Regions from separate parts of the Homo sapiens genome. Here all the other regions are linked to region 2. The links are contacts of gene promoters, found by promoter capture Hi-C in blood cells and fetal thymus (Javierre and others, 2016). All regions are on one chromosome and are shown on one strand. The core of a region is centred on a gene start or on the middle of the fragment in contact, and the rest is flanking DNA. Distances in the headings are between cores, read along the strand shown.

The links. Contacts are between HindIII fragments. The CHiCAGO score rates a contact against its expected background, and 5 or more counts as called.
Region 1: a contact is called between a fragment that was not itself captured here and the fragment with the promoter of DPH6 in region 2, in 3 of 17 cell types (activated CD4 T cells, total CD4 T cells and naive CD8 T cells). The highest score is 6.0, in activated CD4 T cells.
Region 3: a fragment that was not itself captured here is called in contact with the fragment with the promoter of DPH6 in region 2 in 2 of 17 cell types (total B cells and naive B cells); the score reaches 10.3 in total B cells.
Region 4: a contact is called between a fragment that was not itself captured here and the fragment with the promoter of DPH6 in region 2, in 1 of 17 cell types (activated CD4 T cells). The highest score is 5.1, in activated CD4 T cells.

Annotation. Positions count from the first base shown.
Region 1 is chr15:38,701,624-38,704,355 of GRCh38, reverse strand. No RefSeq gene overlaps it. Among named protein-coding and RNA genes, the nearest start is that of LINC02694, 6.4 kb to the right of the region's middle. The HindIII fragment of the contact is 6,394 bases long and covers 1-2,732 here.
Region 2 is chr15:35,544,885-35,547,746 of GRCh38, reverse strand. DPH6 (diphthamine biosynthesis 6) reads left to right here and starts at 1,582. Exons shown (of 9, transcript NM_080650.4): 1 at 1,582-1,628. The coding sequence starts at 1,606. It overlaps DPH6-DT (DPH6 divergent transcript), which reads right to left and starts at 1,552. Exons shown (of 3, transcript NR_038251.1): 1 at 1,274-1,552. RefSeq lists silencers at 1,110-1,159, 1,460-1,599 and an enhancer at 1,647-2,581. The HindIII fragment of the contact is 1,793 bases long and covers 1,019-2,811 here.
Region 3 is chr15:38,680,843-38,683,682 of GRCh38, reverse strand. All of the region lies in intron 1 of LOC105370775 (a long non-coding RNA gene), which reads right to left. Among named protein-coding and RNA genes, the nearest start is that of LINC02694, 14 kb to the left of the region's middle. The HindIII fragment of the contact is 4,614 bases long and covers 1-2,840 here.
Region 4 is chr15:39,787,544-39,790,243 of GRCh38, reverse strand. No RefSeq gene overlaps it. Among named protein-coding and RNA genes, the nearest start is that of FSIP1, 6.1 kb to the right of the region's middle. The HindIII fragment of the contact is 472 bases long and covers 1,155-1,626 here.

The DNA.
Region 1 (2,732 bases), core at 157-2,656, 3.2 Mb before region 2:
AAAGTGGGGCATGGCACTGCCAGGCCCAGGTGCATAGGAAACACCTGGGCAGGGAACAAATCTGGTACTAGATAGAACTCTTTTTTTCCCCCAGAGAACTCGTACAGGTTTGCCTGTCTTTCTGAAAAGCAACTAGAAGTTATTCTTTTGGGATATGGAGGAAGACATCACAAATGCCATTATTTAGCTATGTATTTTCCCCTTTTTATCTCAATTCTTAAAACAGAACGACTTTCTCTTTGACATCAAATTGATAACAGGCTCTTCCCACCCACTTCAGAGTCAATTCTAGCCAGCTAGAAAAAGGAATCCACAGCAAGGAAATCACAGTTCTGATTAGATGCCAGCTTCTTCCCATCAGGTATGAGATAATGATTGAATCAGACTGGATGGATGGATAAAGTTGCTCCTGGATTGATGCTGAATGATAGTTATATCTAATCTCTGTGCATAGAAAAGCCAAGCCAGCCAGGCAAAGTGGCTCACGCCTGTAATTCTAGCACTTTGGGAGGCCAAGGCGGGTGGATCACCTGAGGTCAGGAGTTCAAAACCAGCCTGGCCAACATGGTGAAATCCTGTCTCTACTAAAAATACAAAAATTAGCCAGGCGTGGTGGTGGCGCCTGTAATCCCAGCTACTCGGGAGGCTGAGGCAGGAGAATGGCTTGAACCTGGGAGGCAGAGGTTGCAGTAAGCTGAGATCTTGCCATTGCACTCCAGCCTGGGCGACAGAGGGAGACTCCATTAAAAAAAAAGAAAAGAAAAGCCTACTGACATTAGCAGTATTATATGGTCGAAAAATAGCCATCATAATAATTTACATTGGTCTCATTTTTATTGAAATGAGGCCATGCAAAGCCACATGTAAAGATGAATTCAGCAAAAACCCAAACCGAATGAAATACTGGTTCAGAGAATATTCTTATGTTGTGATTGTGTCATGCCTAACAGAATTTAAAAATAATGGTCTAAGTAATTCTAAGTGGTTTCACATAAATAATTGTGGATAGAGTCCAAAATAGGTATTTTCATAGATTTTTCTGAATATTAGTTCAAGTTCAATTTATTCTGGATTTTGATTTCAGTCTCTGGTGCTTGTAACTTTTATTTTATACATCTTATCCCAGTAAGTTGTCCTTGAAAAAAATAGTAAGAGCCTTGTCACCTACCCTTTAAAATGTTTTCAAATATAAAAATATAGAAAGTTGTACAGGTCATAAACATACAAGTCAATTTTCACAAACTGAATACAACTGTGTAATTAGCACCCAGGTTAAGAAACAGAACTCAGCAGCACCTCAGAACCCACTTCATGCCTCATCTCCCAAAAGCAACCTCTATCCTGACCCTTAACTACATAGTTCAGTGCATCGGTTGGCTCTTGCTGCAGAACAAACAATCACAAAACTTCAATATTTTATCATTCACTCACGGGGGTGGTTGTGTAGGCAAGTTGGTTCATCTTGGCTGGGCTCTTGCCAGGTCTGTCCCACAGGCCTTGGCCAATGGATGAAATGAGTACTCAGACACAGGTATGCAGTATAAAAGCAGCTAGGTGACTGGCTGGCTCTAACGGCCAGACAGCAGCCTGGAGAAGCTGGAGCTGCTTGCTTTTATTCAGCTCAGGCACAATGCCAAAAACCTGGAGCCAACACAACCTGTAGGTAATTAACATTTATTGTTCTCCTTCCAGAGAAAGTCAGGTGTGTGGATGATCAAAGGTCAGTTCCTGGTCAACATAAGTAAACAAGCCTGTTTAAGATAAATTCCCCTACACTCCTTTGTACTTACTCCTTGCCCTCTGCCTCAGGGTTATAGAACAGCTGCTTTCAGCTATTCTCTCCTGGGGCTCTGCAGGAGCTTCCAACCTTTCAGAAGGTTTGCATCCTTTCCCTATAATTTTTCCCACCACTGTGACTGATCCCCCACAGACTTTCTCTTGCACCTTGGGGGTTGGGGGACAGCTCGCCTCCAGCAGGCTAGCCAGGCATGGCCATGGTGATAGCAGAGAATAAGAGAACAAACAGAAATATGCAGGCATCCTCTTTATTCAAGATAGGATCTGACAGAGCCAGGATTAGAGTGAGGCTAGTAGAGTGAGGCTAGTAAATTGAGTTATGCAAGTGCAGGGTCAGCTCCTGTCTTTATCGAAATTTTGTTCACAATGGATTTTCTTGCATTAATTTTGATTTTTCAAAAACATTGCATTCAATATTATTTTTCTTGATTACTGAGGATTTTGGTGCCTCCTTAATTTTAAGGCTGGGGCAGTTGCCTTCATTGCCTCACCATAGTCCTGACCCTGCTGGGGAAATACACTCCACATCTTCAGTGAAAGGAGCTGCAGTCATATGGCAAAGGGCATGGATTTTAAGAGATGAAGAGTTAGAGCTGCTAGTACAATCAATCTACCACAATTAATTTTGGCCATTTTTTACACTGGGCGCAGTGACTGATGCCTGTAATCCCAGCACTTTGGGAGGCTGAGGCAGGAGGATCACTTGAGTGCAGGAGTTTGAGACCAGCCTGGGCTATACAGGGAGATCCCATCTGTACAAAAAGTTTTTTTTTAAATATTAGGTGGGTGTGATAGCATGCTCCTATAGTCCCAGCTACTCAGAAGGCTGAGGTAGGAAGATCCTTCAGCCTGGGAATTTGAGGCTGCAGTGAGCTGTGATTATGCCACTGTACTCCACCCTGGGTGACAGAGCAAGACCTTGTTTGGGGCCCTTT
Region 2 (2,862 bases), core at 333-2,832:
ACTTCTTAAATACTTGACTCATTTGGTAAATATTCATAACTGCAAAATCTTAAAGCTGTATGATTCTAGACGCTAAAACTGATATGTAGACTGTCACTGCTCTAGTCACCCCTACTATTAGAGTTGAGAATGTCAAAATAAAATTGAATGCTTACTATGTACCTGGCATAATTTTAAGTTCCCTACATATATTAACTTACTTAATTCATGCCTTTGGCATCATCCCTCATGACTTTCTTTCTCTTGTATCCCATATCGAATTTGATTCTATTGGCTCTATCTTCAAAATAGAGCTGGAATCCTCTTACTTCTCACCAAATTCACCATGTTGATTCTAGGCTCCGCCATCTCTCTACTGGAACACTGTAACAGCTTCCTAATAGGTGGATTCTCAACACTGCAATCCTTTTAAAATTTTAAGTCACACCCTTCAAAAGTCTGCAATTACCTACAAGACCCTATATAATCCTTCCCCTCCATCACCTTAACCTGCTCTCCACTACTCTCTGCTTTGCTCAATCTGCTCCAGCAACACGGATCTGCCTTAATCTTCCACAAACACACAACGCACCTAGAGCCTTCGATTTTTTTTTCTTGTCTGGAGCACACCCCAATCATACACATAGCGAACTCTCCTTATTTAAATTGGCTCAACTCTCATCTTACCAATAAGGCCTACATAGACACGATTTAATTCTGCAATTTGCCTCTCCACCTCTCTCCTGACTCTCCCCCACCGCACCCCGCCCCTTTCCAATAGCACTTTTCACTCTTCAACAGACTATTTACCTTTAAGATATGTATTGTCTGTTCTCTCCATCCCCATTTAAGCTCTATGCCCGGAATGCCGGGTTTTTGTTTTATTTACGGTTGTATCCACAGAGTCTAAAACAGTGCCTGGTACACGAAAGGCACTCAATACATACTTGGCAAATAAACTTAGAAGCTAGATTTTCTTTCTGCAAGGCCATTGCTCTTTGGTGAAGAGCCTGGCCTGGCCTTGTCAAATACACAAGCTTGACCAAGAGCCAAAGCCACAGAGGGCCTAGAGGTGGGGGGGGCTAGCCCCAGATTTAAAAATTACCACAGCCCCTGGGGATCTGAGTTTCACATCTGGACACACAGGTTTGGAGGACAGAGGAGATGTAAGTTAAAAAGCAGAAGTGTACAGTTGTTTCTGTTCTGTGGGGTGAGGAAGGACAAATTTCTTCTGCGCTTGCACGTCCGCAACTGTGTCAATTTGCAGCAATTGGGACGCTAAATCCCCTCTTACCAAAACAAATCCTGCGCCACTGGGCTTGGGCTCTGCAACGCGGACCTTGCCCTTCCCCCGGCAGCTTCAGTGCCCTCACTTAGGTGGTTAGGCCGTGCCTAAACCTCATTCTTTCCTGGGCCGAGATGTCCCTGCCACAGGGTCAAGGTGCCAAGGTGCCGCACCCTCCGCGCTCAGGTGTCCCGCAGGCAGCCGCGGGGCTCGCAGCGCCGATCCGCGGACAGGCGGCGGAGCGAACACCCGGGCGAGGCCCCGCGGTGCGTCACGCGAGCTGCGGCGCGACCTCCTGGCTCCCGCCCGCGCTCGCCGCACGCACGCGCACTGCGCCCAGCATGAGGGTCGCGGCTCTGATCAGGTAATGCGGTCCTGGAGCCGCCTCCTTCCTCCTAGGCCAGGCTCTCGTCCCTTCCAGCCGCCGCTAGCGCCGAAAGAGTGGGTGTCTCCGTCTGAGTCGCGCGTTGGGGGTTCCGCGGCTCCTCCGAGCCACAGGAAGAGGCGGAGCCTTCGCTGTTGCCGGCCCGCATGTGCCTCGGCCCCTGGCTGGCGCGCCTCCTCCCTGTCTGTCGCTCTCTGGTCTTCTAGCCCTTAAACTTGGATTCCCATTGGATTCAAGTGGGAAATTAAAAAAAGTACCGACGCCTGGGCCCCACCGCCAGAGGGATTGGTTTAATTACTTCTGTGCGACCCGGCGTCTGATTTTTTTTTTTCAAGCTCTAATGAGCCGTGAAGTTTGGAGCCACTACCTTATTCCATCAACTCAGTTAATAACCCTCGCCCTTTCCCCCTCGCTTTCTTCGTCCTCTTCTGTAGTTCCTTTGGTCAGCTGGGTCCGCCGCAGCCTGGCTTCCTCCCTAGTTGTAAGTGTTTCCGCCCATCCCAAGAAGTCCACCCCTCCCTCATCTTCACAGATGTGGATTGCTTATGGCATGTGTGTGTTTCTGCCTTTGGGCACTCAAGTACAGAGATCTCTCTTCGTGGTAGAGACCGAATTGTACTAGTCTTATGCTAGATCCAGTTGCTGTTGCTTCGGACTCTCATCATTGCTTTAGAGTGACCTTACCCTATACTCCGTATTCCAAAAGGAGTTTGATGTCTGTAGTAACCAAATCATAAATTTAAGTGTCTAAATAAGTCCTGTGACTGACAAACCAAAAACAAACCTGCTTAAATATTTCCATACTCAATCTATAAACTGAGGCAGAAGGGAACACACTAGCAACATTAAAAAGTTAGACTACTTAAATACTTGTTTCATGAGATTTTGCCCTGTAGAGTGTCTTAGATACAGTGCAACGATGTGCTTGCTTTTGTAATCCAATTGAAGATTTCATAAACGTTTTCGTTAAGTCCCTTAGGTAATTGATACTGGCTGTAAGTTTTGACCTATTAAGGACTTGATATGAGATTTCAGACCTACTGTAGTGTCTGGAATATTCCGGTTCCCTTTCCTTCAATGTCATTTTTAGGAGACTAGACCATAATGTCACAATAATTATTGTTGTTCAGTAAATGTCCTCTGTAACATAAATGATTAAGCTTTAACCATTGTGTCTTATTTTAAGAATTAAAAGTACCCCAGGAAGTGAATA
Region 3 (2,840 bases), core at 246-2,745, 3.1 Mb before region 2:
ATATTATAAATATTTGAATGACAATGCTGAGAGGAAGTGTCCAGAGGCTAATCCTGGGAGCGGGCAGAGACAGCAAGGTTCACACATGTTCTATGGCCCTCCCTGCATTCTCCAGCCACCTTGCAGTTAGGCAAGGCCTTGTGACCATTGAGGCCAATGAGATGTGAGTGAAAATCATATGTGACCCCTTAGAGCCAAGGTAGAGAAAAGTGAGTATAATTTCTCTATGCTTGTCTCTTCCTTTGCTGTGGTAGCTGGTAACATGATGGGTGGCAGAGCCTCTGCTAGACTGAATCCCTGGGTAAGTATGTGGAGGACAGCCATCATAGAATCATCACTAACCCCATGCTTCTTGACCCCAATCCTCCACAGCTCATGTTGGATAGGTAGCACAAATTTTTATTGAATTAAGCCATAAAGAGTTGGGGGGTTGTTTCTGCAGGTATGTCAGTCTGCCTAAGGACTAACTTTCTAGCTGCAGAGATGGAACTAAGAGTGGAGTCTTTCTCCTCTAAGTGAGTAGGCCTTTGCATAAGCAGCACAGACAGATGAGGGATGGAGGAAACAGAAGCAAGCTGCATTGCCACCCCCTATCCTCCTGGGACCAGTGAGAAGGAGGGGACTTCCTAACCAAAGAGGCTAGGAAGGCCTACAGGGTCTTAAGCGTTTCAAGCAGCATACTGAGCACATGATAGCAGACCAAAAGGGTATGATTATTTCAGCAGACCCAGGTTCTGGCCAGGGGAGAGCAGAGCTTGATGTAGCTGATCTCAGTAGGGGTAGCTTGTAGACTTTTCCCAGGCTGCCCACAGACATGGCCGTGGGGTCTCTCTATTACAACAGCCACGAACATAATGGAAAAAAAAAATAGGTAGGTAGCTGTGTGGTTAGTGGGGGCACCAATTACCCCATAAATCAATTTGCTGTGTGTGTGGAGTGGGGGGTTGTTGGAGCTTCTTATTTTGATATAATTTCAAACAAGAGAAAAAAATGGAAGAATCATAGAAAGAACTTCCACATACCCTTCACCAAGGTTCACTAGTCCCCTTAAAAGTAATCTCTTTCATACCCAACCTAGCTATAATGCCTAACTCAAACTTCAATATTAAAGTTTCATGAGTCAGCTTTATATGTAAGATTTGCAAAACGTGATAGAATACTGATATGGTTTGGGTGTGTCCCCACCCAAATCTCAACTTGAATTGTATCTCCCAGAATTTCCACATGTTGTGGGAGGGACCTAGGGGGAGGTAATCGAATCATGGGGGCTCATCTTTCCCATGATATTCTCATGACAGTGAATAAGTCTCTCGAGATCTGATGGACTTATCAGGGTTTTCTGCTTTTGCTTCTTCCTCATTTTTCTCTTGCCGCCACCATGTAAGAAGTATAAGAAGTACCTTTCACCTCCTGCCATGACTCTGAGGCCTCCCCAGCCACATGGAACTGTAAGTCCAATTAAACCTCTTTTCCTTTCCAGTATCGGGTATGTCTTTATTAGCAGTGTGAAAACGGACTAATACAAGTACGCTTAATGTATAGTTATTTTATATTAAAAAAAAGTAACACTCATTGGAAAAATAGGCAGAGGCCATAAGTAGCCATTTGAAAAAAGAAACAGAATGGACAAAATTATGAAAAGTTCAACCCCTCTAGTAATAAATGTAAATTAAAACCTCATTTTCCACTTAGCAGACTAACAAGTGTTTATACGTATGATTATACTTGTGTTGGCGATAGTATGAGAAAATACTATCGCGCTGTTTCTGGAAATTGGTTCAACGAATGATGTAATTGGCTTGTCTGGCAACAAATATCAAAAAAAAATTTTTTTTAATGCACTTGCCTTTTAGCACAGCAATCTTAATTCTAGGAAGGTATCTGAGGGAATAGGCAAACAAATGTCCCTGACCCACCCCAAGAAGAAGTGTATCTATTGGCCGGGCGCGCTGGCTCACACCTGTAATCCCAGCACTTTGGGAGGCCGAGGCAGGTGGATCACGAGGTCAGGAGACGAGACCATCCTGGCTAACACGGTGAAACCCCATCTCTACTAAAAATACAAAAAATTAGCCAGGCGTGGTGGCGGGCGCCCGCAGTCCCAGCTACTCAGGAGACTGAGGCAGGAGAATGGCATGAACCCAGGAGGCGGAGCTTGCAGTGAGCCGAGATGGCACCACTGCACTCCAGCCTGGGTGACAGAGTGAGACTCTGTCTCAAAAAAAAAGAAGAAGAGGAAGAGGAAGAGGAAGAAGGAAGAAGGAAGAAGAAGAAAAAGAAGAAGAAGAAGAAGAAGAAGAGAATCCATCAAAACAAGAGGAAGAAGAGGAAGAAGAAGAAGAGGAAGAGGAAGAATAAGAAGAAGAAGAAGAAGAAGAAGAAGAAGAAGAAGAAGAAGAAGAAGAAGAAGAAGAAGAAGAAGAAGAAAGAAGAAGAGAATCCATCACAACATTATCCAAAAAAAAAAAACAAAAAAAAAATCAGAATGAAGGGACTTTGGTCAATTAAATGATGGTGTTTTATAGAAAGCACTAACACCACCTACATAGCACTTATAGAACGCCTGGCTCTGTTCTTAACTCCTTGCATATATTAACTCATCTAAGCCTCCCAACAGATAGGTACTACAATTACTGTCAGCATTTCACAGATGATGGAACTGAGGAACAGAGAGGTTCGCTAACCAGGTCATAAAGCTAGTCAATGCAGAGCTAATATCTGCATCTAGGCGGTCTGGTCTGAGTCAGCTCTCTTAAATTTACATTACACAACCTTTCATAGGATGTGTAAGCCTCTCTCTGCAGCTACTAAAATGACAAAATAGATTGTATTCGCTGTCA
Region 4 (2,700 bases), core at 141-2,640, 4.2 Mb before region 2:
TAACAAGTGCAATGAAAAATTCAGTATAGTGTCTCAAGAACATATTAATTTCTCTATTTCAACAAAATAAGGAACAGTGCTAGAGAGTTATCTTCCCATTGTTTGACAGATAGGCTGGTAAACTGAAGTCTGCAGAGGTGAAGAGGCTTGCCGTTCCATAACAGAGGTGGGATACATATGCAACTCTCATAAAACCTAAACAAATTCTGTTCTATTGCATCGTTCTATAAAAATAGGGCACTTCTCTTGTGGTTTTGCTTGCTTAATTCTTTGTTCGACAATTGCAGGGACAAGACAGATGGTTGTTACCATTACCCAGATGTTTCTAAACAAGTAATTCTTGCTGCCATGCACGTTGAGCAGATGCCTTTTACATTGTTATGAATGTTGGGTTGAGAAGCAGGTCATTTCCAAAGAGAGCAGAGACTGCTTAAATCAGAAAATCACAGGGTCTCAGAGCTGGAAGTAGTGGTAGAAACCTTTATCTACCTCTTATTTACTAGACAAAGAAACTGAGGTGGAAAGAGGTTAAGAGACTAGGCCCAGGCCACACTGTTCTTGGCAAAGACAGGACAGAAAATCCAGAGATGTGTATTTTAAAATGTGTGTCAGTGATGAATTACAAAAATATAAAACATCACAAATTTTGAACAAAATTAAAGCACTAATTTTAGTTTGCCTATTATGGCAAAATAAGGGGAAAATAAGCCAGCTTCTATTAAGAAAGGAGTTTGGATGATCAAATTTTAAAAATGTAAACAAGAAAACCAAGTCTTCAAAATGATGACTAGTTCCTAGTGTAATAAACACTGTATGTTCAGATAGAAACATTACTTTGGATTCCAGCTAAGAAAAAGATTGTGTAAGAAATAAAGTGAGAAGCTAAGAATGCCAGGATGAGACTTAAACATTGTGGCAGCCTGACCCATGACTGATGAACAAACCCCTGGGGTGGTTTACTTCTTATTTCTTTATGTCTGAGATGTTAACTCTGAGAAAAATCATTTCCTTACCTTGCTGCTTAACACCCTAAATATTTGATTTGAATGTTTCTAATATGGCATCTTAATTATTTTAGCTTCCTTTATTTTTTGTTAAAATATGTACAAAGGTTTACATAATAATGAAGGCTTACATAACTATATACTAAAGCTTCATTTTAGTATTGTAGGAAAACGGCCTGTTGCATAGCAAGATGACCAATGTGTTCCTGTAGCATAGATAAACTCTCATAGAGATGCTTATCTAACCACCCCAGGGGTCATGAGTTTTGCAAGAAGGCCTGAGGCATGACTGGCTGCACATCTTTCCCTAAAATCTTGCTATATAAAAGATGCTTTCTGGAGGGCAGTTGCGGGGATCCACTGTCTCTCTGGCCGCCAGAGACATGGCTTCTGTTTGTAAGCCCTTATTGAATGTTTCTTTCTGAGAAACTGGACTTGTCAGCTTCTTTCATTGGCCTCTCAGCTTCCTTGGCCTTTGGGGGTAGGTTTGCATAGACCTGCTTACCTCAACCAAGTACACAGATCAGGAGATCCAATTTAAAACAACAAACTAACAAACCCCTATGGGATCAGAGAGACCAAGCTCAATACTGAAGTTAGGTTTTGGACTCAGAGACAAGCTTACCTGTAGGTTGAAAGCATGAAGCATGAAACCCAATGCATGGGCAATGTTCAGAATCTGTTGGTTTCAGCCCAGGATTGATAGTTGCAGTGCAATTTCAGCCATTATGCGCAAGCAGTGTCACATCCATTCAGCTGACAGGGGCGAGACACTAATCTCAGTGGGCATCCAGCAACTGAAACTGCAGCTGGCCTTGGGAAGTTTCTGCCAACTCTTTAAATCTTTACAGGTACAGAGTTGCTGCGGGTGACCAAACTTTGTAGCCAGTAAGATCATGAGAAAGTTAAGCAGTCTGTTACTTTGAGGGAATTTCCTTAGAAAAGAAGAGAAACCGATTTTTTTCTCCTTTCTGGTGAGAATGACTCACTTGGCAGAGCTGATTGCTTTAGGGCCCACTTGACATGACACCTTCCCCCTGCAAATGACTCTGGATATTATAACATACCTTCGTTTTCATTGATTTACTTTACTATCTTTAAAAACAACCCTCTAGGCCAGAAACATGTAGCTGCACTGCTATGTGTGTGTGTGTGTGTGTATGTGTGCACTGATTTTTACACAATTTCACAATGTCCTGGAAGTTTGTGGCCCCCTAGGTTGACATTCGGATCGCTCGAGCCAGTTGAATAGTTATATGACAATACATGATCTAACTTCTTTAACTGAAAACAAACCTAAAGTCATCACTGTTTTTGGACCAATAGGCATTGAGAAGTTGTAAGCTTGATCTTTTAAAAAATGGAGACATCCACTGACCAGCAGCTAATTCTGTGCAGCACTCCACAGCAGACAGGGAGAGGAGGGAAAGAGTTCTACAGGGAGAGCATTTTTCAGTCTCTAGCCTGCTGTTTACAAAGGAAGTGCTGGATGTCACTGTTCACAGCCTCCGTGTAGAACAGCTGCAGGGGGCTCCATGGTGCCTCCAGGAGCAATGTCCTCACCACTATTTACCCTCTAAAACATTAACTTGAAGTCAGTGGTTCATCTGTACCACAAGCACCAAGGGACTTGTTAAAAATGCAGATTCCTGGTCTGCATTCCAGACCCACTGAATCATGTAATAGGGACTAGAAT